Linked DNA regions of Homo sapiens: region 1 is linked to region 2. Evidence: promoter capture Hi-C in human tissues and cell types (Jung and others, 2019). All regions are on one chromosome and are shown on one strand. Each heading gives the region's core, a stretch centred on a gene start or on the middle of the fragment in contact. The rest is flanking DNA. Distances are from core to core; before and after follow the strand shown.

Region 1 (5,680 bases), core at 477-2,976, 110 kb after region 2:
TAAGGACTTTATAAAGCACAAAGCATTATGCTTGGATGTAATAAGGATCCAGTGATTATTAGCTGTTATCATTACCATCATTACTATTTTACATTAAGCAACATACAGTTCTCTCTGCCTTTCCTTTTTTCCTAAACAAGACTTTTGAGTAATAATACTGGAAATACTCAATACTCCCTTAACGGCTTGGAATGCTTTTTCTGCCTTCACTCGTTAACTTATAGGATTTATATAACTCTGATACTCACCAGGACATGAACTAGAGTCTCCAGACCAAGGTGTCTGGTCTGTCACAGACCCCTTAGTACACACGGCTGGCACAAGCCATAGCAGAGGCTGGGAGCTTGCACAGTATGGGTGTGTGGGATGGGACTGGGCAGCAAGCAGGTCCCATGCTTCTTGAAAAGGGCAAGTTGATTTATTTATTTTCTCCTTTTATATTTCTTCCATCCTCTGGGTAACAGTTAGCTACTCCTAACACCCAACTAGACTATTTCTATACCCACCTGTCTGGATTTTCTATTTAAACTCTTGCTACCCTACAATGCATTCTCTCCATATAGCAGTCAAACTGGTTTTATGAACACGATAAATCATTCATTCAATAAATACTTATCAAGCCAGGTACTGTTCTGGGTGCTCAGGATATAGCAATAAACAGAAAAAATGTCTGCCCTTATGAAACATATTTTAGCAAGAGAAAGGGAGACAATAAGTAAGTGGTATACCTTACAGAAAAACAATAAAAGCATTTAAATGGATATAGGGAACATGATGGGTGAGAGAAAACGTCTGCAATTTTAAAGTGGGTCATAAGAAAAGGCCTCACTGAAAAGGTGACATTTAAACCAAGACTTTAAGGGACTAAGAGAGGAAGTCATAGGACTATCTAAGGGAAAGCTTCCCAGACAGGGTAACAGCCAGTGCTAAGGCCCTGAGGCAGCAGTGGGCCTGTCTTATTTAAGGAAGAATGAACTTTTTGAATACTTCTACATTCATTATAGTATTTTAGATCAGTTTTCCTAGTAACGAAAGCAAAGATATGTGTACGTATTAAACATCAGTGAGGCTCATGTGAGCATGCAGGCAGATAGAGACTCTTAACTATATAAATTCTCTGTGTATGTTTCTCTATATATGTACACATATATTTACATGGACAGACATACATATATGCAGAAGTAGTTATCCAGTACATCTCTGAAAATTTTTTTTTTTTTTGAGATGGAGTCTTGCTCTGTTGCCCAGGCTGGAGTGCAGTGGCATGATCTCGGCTTACTGCAACTTCCACCTCCCGGGTTCAAGTGATTCTCACGCTTCAGCCTCCTGAGTAGCTGGAATTATAGGTACGTGCCACCATACCTGGCTAATTTTTGTATTTTTAGTAGAGACGGGGTTTCACCATGTTGGCCAGACTGGTCTCGAACTCTTGACCTCAAGAGATCTGCCCGCCTCAGCCTCCCAAAATGCTGGGATTACAGGTGTGAGCCACGACGCCCGGCCACATTTTTAAAAATCATGTGTGAAACACAGACAGCAGGCTCCTATGTTTAGGGATGGTTAGGGTGGCTTCCTGGAGAGCTAAAAAGATTATAGAATCCCCAACTGTATTTTTACACATAATCTTTGATAGTACTTTATTCATGTTCTTAATTTTTATCTCCTTCATAACTGAATATGATTAAATGATTTAAATCTAATTGCTATTGATGAGAGGCTAAAAGACACTGCTTTCCACATTACTAAAAATTTCTATCTTTTCTCAAAATTAGTCAGTTTACAATGAAAATACTGGCACCAGGGACAGCACTTCTGGATTTGCAGTTTCTATTCATCTTTTGTAAAACAGGAGCAAAAATCTAACAATGCTTTCAACTGTACAAAGCTTTAGTACAGAGAAAAGAAATGATGCTGAAAAGAAAATTAGGCCAGGATACAGAAGTTTCTAGTTTTACTAAATATACTAGGAAATAACAACACAGCAGGGCAAGGGAAGAAAGCGAGAATTACCATTAAACTCAAAGTAAAAAACCAACAAAACAAAAGATATGTGTTCAGATTCTGACATGTTATTTCACCTTTCAGAGCCAATGTCTTCCACCGTAAGAGGAGTACCAGTACTTACCTATAGATGTTTTGTGTCAAGTAAGTGAGATGCTGGCTGTGGAAGAGCTGAGCACAGCACTCAGTCAATACTTTCTCCCCTTGACTGGGACAGGATAATGAGAGGACTAAATGTCAGATTAATCTGACAGCAATATCCAAGAAAATCTGGAAAGAACAAGATCTGGAGTTTGCAAATCATCATGTTCTATGGGCTCCTTTCCATTCAACTTTCGCCTATCTTTAGTTTCTCCCACTGCAATGGACACCTCTCTGCTCTTTCAGATACACTCAAGTCTTTTCCTTGTTAAAAAACAAACCACAGGCTTCTTCTGAGTTCTTACTCTTTCTTCCTTTTCCTTAGAAGCTGGCCTTGTTGAAACGACAGTCTGTACTTAAAAGTCTTCACTTGCTTGCTTCCTCTTCACTTTTCTGCCCACAGCGTATTTCTCTCAGCACTAAATGGGCTCTTCCCTGGGTCCCAGGCCACTCCCTCATCACCAAATCCAACAGGCATTTTCATTCCCTACTTGGCACTGTCATACTCTACCTTGACTCTCCTCTCTCCCTTCGACCATGTTCTCCTGCTGGGCCCTCTCCTCCTCCTTGGACCACTCACCTTCACCAGAGCATCCTTGGCCCCCTCACTATGTTATTGTCCTGAGGGTCCCACCTTTGCTGTTTTGCCCTGCCCACTCATTCATTCATCCCAATAATTATCCAATCTGTATTGATATGAATTTCATAAATTCAAATTTATATTTTCACCAGATTTATGAAAATTCTAATTGATGTCATTAAATATTCACTCAACAAATATTTAAGTACTTACTCCAGCAAGCAATGTCATAGTCAGGGAATGTAAAGAAAAACATGTTCAATGACAATTCGGTGAGCCTACATATTAGTGGGTATTGCTCCGCTGCCCAGGCTGGAGTGCAGTGGCACAATCTCAGCTTACCGCAACCTCAGCCTCCCGGGTTGAAGTGATTCTTGCACCTCAGCCTCCCGAGTAGCTGGGATTACAGGTGCACGCAACCATGCCCGGCTAAAGACAGACAGACATGGAAAATGATGAGCAAAATACAGTGTCACATGCAGTAAAAAAAAAAACAAGTGAGCTGGGTGCCATGGCTCACGCCTATAATCCTAGCACTTTGGGAGGCTGAGGTGGGCAGACTGCCTGAGCTCAGGAGTTTGAGACCAGCCTGGACAACACAGTGAAACCCTGTCTCTACTAAAATGCAAAAAATTAGCCGGGCACGGCAGTGTGCACCTGTAGTCCCAGCTACTCAGGAGGCTGAGGCAGAAGAATTGCTTGAACCTGGAAGGCGGAGGTTGCAGTGAGCCAAGACTGCACCACTGCACTCCAGCCTGACTCCATCTCAAAAAAAAAAAAAAAAAAAAAAAGAAAGAAAAACCTTTAGGTTCTAACCCAGTAGGGAAGCACGAATGGGGTAAAGAAGTGGGAGATGAAAACACAGTATCAAAATATATGTGTTTGCTTCTGCTGCTTCCAGAAAACCCACCAGAATGACAATAAGCAATGAAAATGGCATCAATAAAATAATCTAGGGAGCAAGGAAAAAACTGCTGCACATACATACCAGAAAACCAGAAACAAAAACAATGAAATACTCCCAAACAGATGAGTGAAGTTAGTGTATGCGTTAGAAAGACTGCTATTTAAGAAGAACATTCAGACAATGAGTGGCTCACAGAAATTTAAAAAATGATAGTACAAATAGATCTTTTTACAGAAGGACTGAAACGTAAGGTTTACAGAAATCTTCGTATCTGCTAGCACACTCCCCTTCAAACAATGCCACACAATCTCCTACCTCAGGGCCTTCGCACCTGCTGTTCCCTATGTCCTCAATGTTCTCCCATGTGGCCCATCACTTTGAGTATTTGCTCAAAAGTCTCATTAAAGGAGAAGCCCTCCCTGTAAAATCACACTCCTGTTAACTAATGTCATTCTCTTATGCTGCTTTATTTTTCCACACCGCACCTATCACTGTGTTATATTCATTTCCTCCCTTCCTGCCTCCTTTCCTTTCCCTTCTGTCCCCCCCTCCCTTCTTCCTTTATTGTCTCCCCATTAGAATATAAGCTCCTCAAAAACACTTTGCCTGCTGTGCTTATTGCTGTAGTCCCAGTGCTAAGAATAGTACTCAATAGATATTTGTTGAATAAATAGGTTATTTACATAAGAATACAAATATCAATAGTAATAAAATCCATAGAAATCTGTAATAAAAGTAATTAACACTACCTTTCATTTTATACCAAAGAAATTATCATTAAACACAAAATAGTATCTAAAGCAGTGCAATATGTAGCAAGACCATAAAAAATGGATATATCCTTTGACCCAGTGATTCCTCTCCCAGAATCCCATTCTTTAAAAAAACTTGTGGGAAACCAGCAGTGATGGTTACAGGCAATGTTTTTCCTATAATTGTGTTCCTTTAATGATTTCTTTCATTGTTTTATCTTAGATAGCTTTATATTATCTAGAGATTAAATATTTGCCTATCTCTTTAATTTAAAAAAAATATACAAAGAAATGATTAGGGCCAGGCACGGTGGCTCACGCCTGTAATCTCAGCACTTTGGGAGGCCAAGGCAGGCGGATCACGAGGTCAGGAGATCGAGACCATCCTGGCTAACACAGTGAAACCCCGTCTCTACTAAAAGTACAAAAAATTAGCTGGGCGTGGTGGCGGGCACCTGTAGTCCCAGCTACTCCGGAGGCTGAGGCAGGAGAATGGTGTGAACCCGGGAGGCGGAGCTTGCAGTGAGCTGAGATTGTGCCACTGCACTCCAGCCTGGGTGACACAGCGAGACTCCATCTCAAAAAAAAAAAAAAAAGAAAAAAAAAGAAATGATTGGTACTTTTGCACATGGTAGAGAAGATAAAGATGTAAAATGCATTTTTTTTTTTTGCAGAGAAAAGTCAGTAATAACACCTAAAACAGAAATTTCAGTTGTGATAAGGATTAGAAACCAGATAACAAAGATAAAGGAGCATTCAACATTTTGAGGTAAATGGCATTGAATGGGTAGTAATGCAGATTAGAATTTTGGGAATGAGAAAGAAAATATACACAATGTAAGGCTGCTAGAAATGAAAACAAGGCTAACATCATTTTTCATGTTTTTAAATGAAGACTGTCTAAAACTCTCTCACACAATGCAGAGGAAGAGAAATGTTAGTTTCCTTTGAAGGAGAAAAAGCTTACAAATATTTACATGAATGACAGAAAGGAAGCTATGGATATACGTTATGGTTGAGAGGAAACACTCATGAAAGACAGTAAAAGCCCAGAGAAGATGCGTAAAGACAGGGTTTCAATTCAGAATGCAGAGGAAGACAGAAGAGGACATAGTGGTTGCTAACATTTACCAAATGCTCAGTATGTTCCACGCAGTGGGTAAGTGCCATAAATGTAAAAACTCATTTACTCCTCATAATCCACCACCTCCCTGCAAGATGACATAAGTGAGCCCTAGAGAAAAGAGGCCCATCAGTAATGCGGAGGTGTCATCTGAGAACACACATCCAGTGGCCCTA
Region 2 (5,706 bases), core at 1,520-4,019:
AGGTCGAGGCTGCAGTGACGTGTGATCACACTACTGCACTCCAGCCTGGGCAACAGAGTAAGATCCTGTCTCTTAAAAAACAAAACAAAACGAATCATCTTAAAAAAGCTTACTAGAAAATTCTAAAAGATCAATAAGCAAAACAACAAGAAGTGCTCATCTAACTTTCTACCACCAGAAAAAGTTAACTTTTTGCTATGTCTCTTCAGGTGATTTTCATGCAAATATGGTTCTATATTTAAATAAAAATAAAATCACATTATACAAATAACAGCATCCTGGTCACCACTGTTTACATGCTGCCCAGTAGTTCAGTGTACAGATGATCTAGTTTATGTAACTCCCCTAGCACTGGATGTTTAGGTTGTTTGCACTTTGTTCATACTCTAGAAATGCTGAATTGAGCATCCTGTACAGAATCACAAAGGCGTACAAAGCTTATCTCCTTCAGACATATTTTTCTTTCTTTGTTTTTTTTTTTTTTTTTTTGAGATGGAGTCTTGCTCTGTCACCAGGCTGGAGTGCAATGGCACAATCTCAGCTCACTGCAACCTCCACCTTCCGGGTTCAAGTGATTCTCCTGCCTCAGCCTCCGGACTAACTGGGATTACAGGAGCGCACCACCAGACCCACCACACCTGGCTTTTTTTTTTTTTGAGACGGAGTCTCGCTGTGTCACGCAGGCTGGAGTGCAGTGGCATGATCTCCGCTCGCTTCAACCCCTGCCTCCCGGGTTCAAGTGATTCTCCTGCCTCAGCCTCCAGAGCAGTTGGGACTATAGGCATGCACCACCATCCCTAGCTAACTTCTGTATTTTTAGTAGAGACCGGGTTTCACCATGTTGGTCAGGCTGGTCTTGAACTTCTGACCTCAAGTGATCTGCCCACCTTGGCCTCCCAAGGTCCTGGGAATACAGGGCCTCTCTTTTTCAAATTCCCCGTGTTAGGAAGGAATTATTTAACTCCTCCGTGTCTTTGTCCTCCACAGGGCAAAAACACCTGGATCTTTCACAAAGCTCTGGTAGTGGCAGTGGCCTGGCATTGGAGCCCCATTAAATTCTTTGTCAAAAAGCATGAGACTGGGGGCCGGGCGCGGTGGCTCACGCCCATAGTCCCAACACTTTAGGAGGCTGAGGCGGGCAGATTGCTTGAGGTCAGGAGTTCAAGACCAGCCTTGCCAACTTGTTGAAGCCTGGTCTCTACTAAAAATACAAAAATTAGCTGGGTGTGGTGGCACACATGCCTGTAGTCCCAGCTACCAGGGAGGTTGAGGCTGCAGTGAGCCATGTCCGTGCCACTGCACTCCAGCCTGGGTAACAGAGTGAGACCCTGTCTCAAAAAAGGGAAAGAAAAAAAAAAAAAAGCATGAGACAGGCTCTGAGGCAAGGGAAACACCTTCCTTCCAGAGTTTCTCAGCTACCAAGCCCTCTGGTCCTTCCCTGAGCTTCACTGGGTAGAGAAGCTCAACAACAGATGAAGAAGTTTACCACGTCTAGACCCTGAAGGCAGTTCAAGCAAAAAGAAGCCTTCACTCACCTGTACATGGGCTGGCAGCAACCTCCTTGCCATTTCTCCCTCCCTGCTGCCTCTCTTGGAGAAGGCACCTGGAATGGAGAAAAAAGCTGTGAGGTCTTTTCATCCAGCCTGCATGCCCACCCTCATTAGGCCAGACCAGGTTAGAAGCCATAAGCTGAGCACCTGCAGAGAAGGAGCCTGGAACTGCCCAGGCCAGAGGGGCCCTAAGTCCGGCCACTTAAACCAGTGTGGGAAGCAGGTTCAGAGTCACCGGGCCTGCTACCTTTCTGCCAGTGCTTTACGATAAAGACGAAAGGAGCGAAGGGATGAAGACCATCTGCCGTGCCTTAACAGGGTCAAGGGCAGAATCAGGCAAGGCTCATTCAGATAAAGTAATAGGAAATGACACAATATTCCACACATCTGCACTTGGATGTTGTTCAATACGAAAAACAGCAGTTGAAGAACTGATGCTCTTTTTTAGGAACAGCCAACCAAAAATTAGTCCTCTTTTCTTCCTCTTGTAAGATTTACTTCCTTTATCAAAAACAGTTATCAAAGCTGCTTAAAGGTAGCGTTACCCATTCTCCCTGGCCCCAAAAAAACAAGGGCGCAAGAAAACAGCATCACTAGCTAGAAATTGATTTAAAATTTAGAGAAATGGGAAGAAACGTAGCAAGTGGACATGGTTACGGTAAATAAAAAAAGAAATAGTTAAATCACTCTAGGACTGGCTGTAGGAAAACACTGCCAAACGTGCAAGACTGCCAAAAACGAGTAAATCTAAAGTTTAAACTCCGGGAAACGGAGTAGGGGGAGGCTTAAACCCACAAACACTAAGAGCGAAAAACCGCCCGGAGGGCTCCGGACCCTGAACCGAGGCGGCATTTTGCAGTTTCTGTTCTGGAGCCGTTTCCCCCGGAGTCCGGCCCAGGCTGCGGCCCAGGAGTCCAGCGGCGTCGAAGCGCCCTCCCGGCCTCCGCCAGGCCCTTCCCAGGCCACGCCCCCTCCGGGGCCGGGTTCACCTGCCGAGGCCGCCCCGGCTCGGACGCCCGGAGCCGGGGACTCGGCAGACACGCGCAGAGGCCAGCCCTCGTCCTGGTCCCGCCGCGGCAGCCGCACGCCCCGGGCCCGCCCTCACCGGCAGCCTGTACCTGGGCCCGCCTCGGCGGGGGGCGCGCAGCTCCACACCGCACAAGAGGCGAGCGGAACACCTAATTCAGAGACGTTTCCCGTCGCTGCCGGGCGCAACTGCGCCTGCGCGCCGGAGAGCCGACGGGTTTCCCTGGCTGAACCGCAGCGTTTGTCCCTCCGGACTTCATTTCCCAGACGTCGCTGCGGCACCACCACTTACGGTGTCCGAGAGAGAACCACAGCGCCGAGAGCGGAGAACGCGGTCGGGCTGTGGAGTTCGAGAAGGCTGAAGCCGAGTCCCTCAGCTTGGGCTCCAACTACTCTCCCTCCGCTAAACCACCCATTGTATTCGTAATTAGAATGACAAAAATAGTAAGACGGAAAAGTGAGTATGAATTTTTAAATCTGGAAGACTAGCCGCTGCTGATTATTCGCAGGTGGTGACAGAACTATTACAGTCCATTCTGCGATTTTAATTAAAAATGAATTATGTCTAAATTTTATAATCTCGGCCGGGCGCGGTGGCTTATGCCTGTAATCGCAGCACTTTGGGAGGCCGAGGTGGGCGGATCACAAGGTCAGGAGACCGAGACCATCTTGGCCAACATGGTGCAACCCTGTCTCTACGAAAACACGAAAAATTAGTCGGGCGTGGTGGCACATGCCTGTAATCCCAGCTATTCGGGAGGCTGAGGCAGGAGAATCGCTTGAACCTGGGAGGCGAAGGTTGCGGTGAGCTCAGATCGCGCCATTGCACTCCAGCCTGGGTGACAGAGCAAGACTCTGTCTCAAATAAATAAATAAATAAATAAATAAATTTTTGTAATCTTTACATATTTACTGGCACTCAGAGTAAAACAAAAGCATAAGCCTAGTATTTCCCTCTTCATGGCACTCACTTCTTTTGAAGTGACTTCTTTAAAACGTAAAATAAAGCCCAACTCCCAGCGCTATCATCACAACTGCATCCTCGGTGACCGGCACTGTACACGCCAAATACTATGTGCTCAGAAAGTGTTGATTTTTAAAATATCAAACATTAGCGTTTACAGAGACAAACCTAAACACAAAGGGTACTTGAAGATAGAAAATGCAGAGAGGGACTAAGAGATATCAGGTAGATAATATGAAAAAGAAATCTTGGATCACGATGTTACAACAATACAAAGATTATTGCAATGTAAAAATAATTAAATCGAACAAAATGGATGTTTTATATTGTTAAAAGATAATAATGCACATCACTAATCATTAGGGGAATGCAGATCAAAGCAGATCAAACATCCACTGCGATTTCACACTCATTAGGTTGGCTATTATAAAATTTGGAAAAAAAAGAAAACCAGAAAACAATCCTTGTGCCTTAATGGTGGGAATGTAAAATGGTAGCGCTGCGCTGGAAAACGGTATGGCAGTTCCTCAAAAAAAAATTAAATGTAGAATTAACACATGGGCAATTCCATTTCTGGACCATATGTTATTTCTATATTTAATTATTATTTTAAAATAATAATAATAAAGATATGACAGTTATAGACCATTATTGACAAAACAACATAGCATTGAGATTTACAAAGTAAAAGGTGCCAGACTGAGTACCCATGATTACCTCCCTTTTTCTCTTCATATTCTTCAAAGTAACCCCAAACACATATAATTTTCAAAGGAGCAAATCTAATGCAACTCTAGAAAAATACCATCAGAACACCAGAAATTGAGGAAACATTTGGAAGACATGCAGGAGACAAGTGCTCTGATACCCAAAATCTAATAAAAAGATTCAGAAGAAAGCAGAGAAAATGGGGAGGGGGAATAATAACAGATTGATTACATACAGAAATAGTGATAGAGATATAGCAGAAAACACATTCAAGCTGAGGAAGCCCTGAGTCTTCAGAGTAAATAAAATGTAGGGAGTTTGGCATAATGAATGAGCTAGGGTAGGGATGGCCCATAAAAAATACATCCTCGATGAAATATCACAACTCTGAGGATAAATAGGAACCCCTAAAAGTGGCCAGAAAAGACGGAATAAAAGGTTGGCATGTGTTATTTGCTACAAGTCACAGAAGATGGAACTGCTCAAGTTGGCTGAAATGAATAAGGAATAGCAAGAAATCACTGGGGCAGACTCCGGCTAGAGAAGAATCGGTGGTTCTATGATGTCAGCAAAAACCAGGTTTTGGCCGGGGGTGGTGGCTCAAGCCTGTAATCCCAGCTATTTGGGAGGCTGAGGCAGGGCAGTTGCTTGAACCCGGGAGGCGGAGGTTGCAGTGAGCTGAGATCGCGCCACTGCACTCCAGCCTGGGGGACAGAGCGACACTCTCAGAAAAAAACAAACAAACACGTTTCTTCCTTTTCTCCACCCTGATCCTCAGGAGCTGGATGTGATGTGGATATGTAAACAAAATCTAGGTTCTGTTGAGAATTAGGAAGGCGAGAGGATATTAGGTAACCAAGAAAGTCCACTACTCTAGACGAACCAAAGAAAGTGCAGCTGACATCAGGCTTCTCAGCAACACGGGTTCTAGAAGATGGTGTGGAGCAATGTCCTCAGATTTCAAACAGAAAATGATTTGGAATTTAAATAGAGTACTATAGATTCTGTAGAATACTATAACCTTCCAATCTTGCATTGGATTGTGAGTGAAGCAAAGGCATTTGGAGGATGAATGTATTTACATAGATTCCAATTCATAGAGTATCTCTGCTAGAATTAGTAATGAATGTAACTCATTTAAAAAAAGAAGAATCCCGCCGGGCGCAGTGGCTCACACCTGTAGTCCCAACACTTTCAGAGGCCAAAGTGGGCAGATGGCTTGAGCTCGGGAGCGCGAGACCAGTCTGGGCAACGTAGTGAAACTCCATGTCTCCCCACCCCCCTCCAAAAAAAAAAAAACCACAAAAACAAAATTAGCCGGGCATCGTGGCGCACGCCTATGGTCCCAGCTACTAGGGGTTGGGGTGGGGTGCTGAGGTGGGTGAATCACTTGAGCCAGGGAGGCAGAGATAGCAGTGAGCCGAAATTTCACGACTGCACTCCAGCCTGGGCCACACA

What was found. The method cuts DNA at HindIII sites, captures the fragments that hold promoters and counts their contacts. A contact is called where the count stands out against the background at its distance.
Region 1: a contact is called between a fragment that was not itself captured here and the fragment with the promoter of ZNF879 in region 2, in 2 of the 25 tissues and cell types used here (aorta and dorsolateral prefrontal cortex).

The regions. Positions count from the first base shown.
Region 1 is chr5:178,913,156-178,918,835 of GRCh38, reverse strand. ZFP2 (ZFP2 zinc finger protein) reads right to left here. Exons shown (of 5, transcript NM_030613.4): 4 at 2,126-2,271. Among named protein-coding and RNA genes, the nearest start is that of ZFP2, 20 kb to the right of the region's middle. The HindIII fragment of the contact is 3,776 bases long and covers 1-3,614 here.
Region 2 is chr5:179,020,867-179,026,572 of GRCh38, reverse strand. ZNF879 (zinc finger protein 879) reads right to left here and starts at 2,769. Exons shown (of 5, transcript NM_001136116.3): 1 at 2,669-2,769; 2 at 1,536-1,603. The coding sequence starts at 1,568. RefSeq lists an enhancer at 2,640-3,141. The HindIII fragment of the contact is 17,237 bases long and covers 274-5,706 here.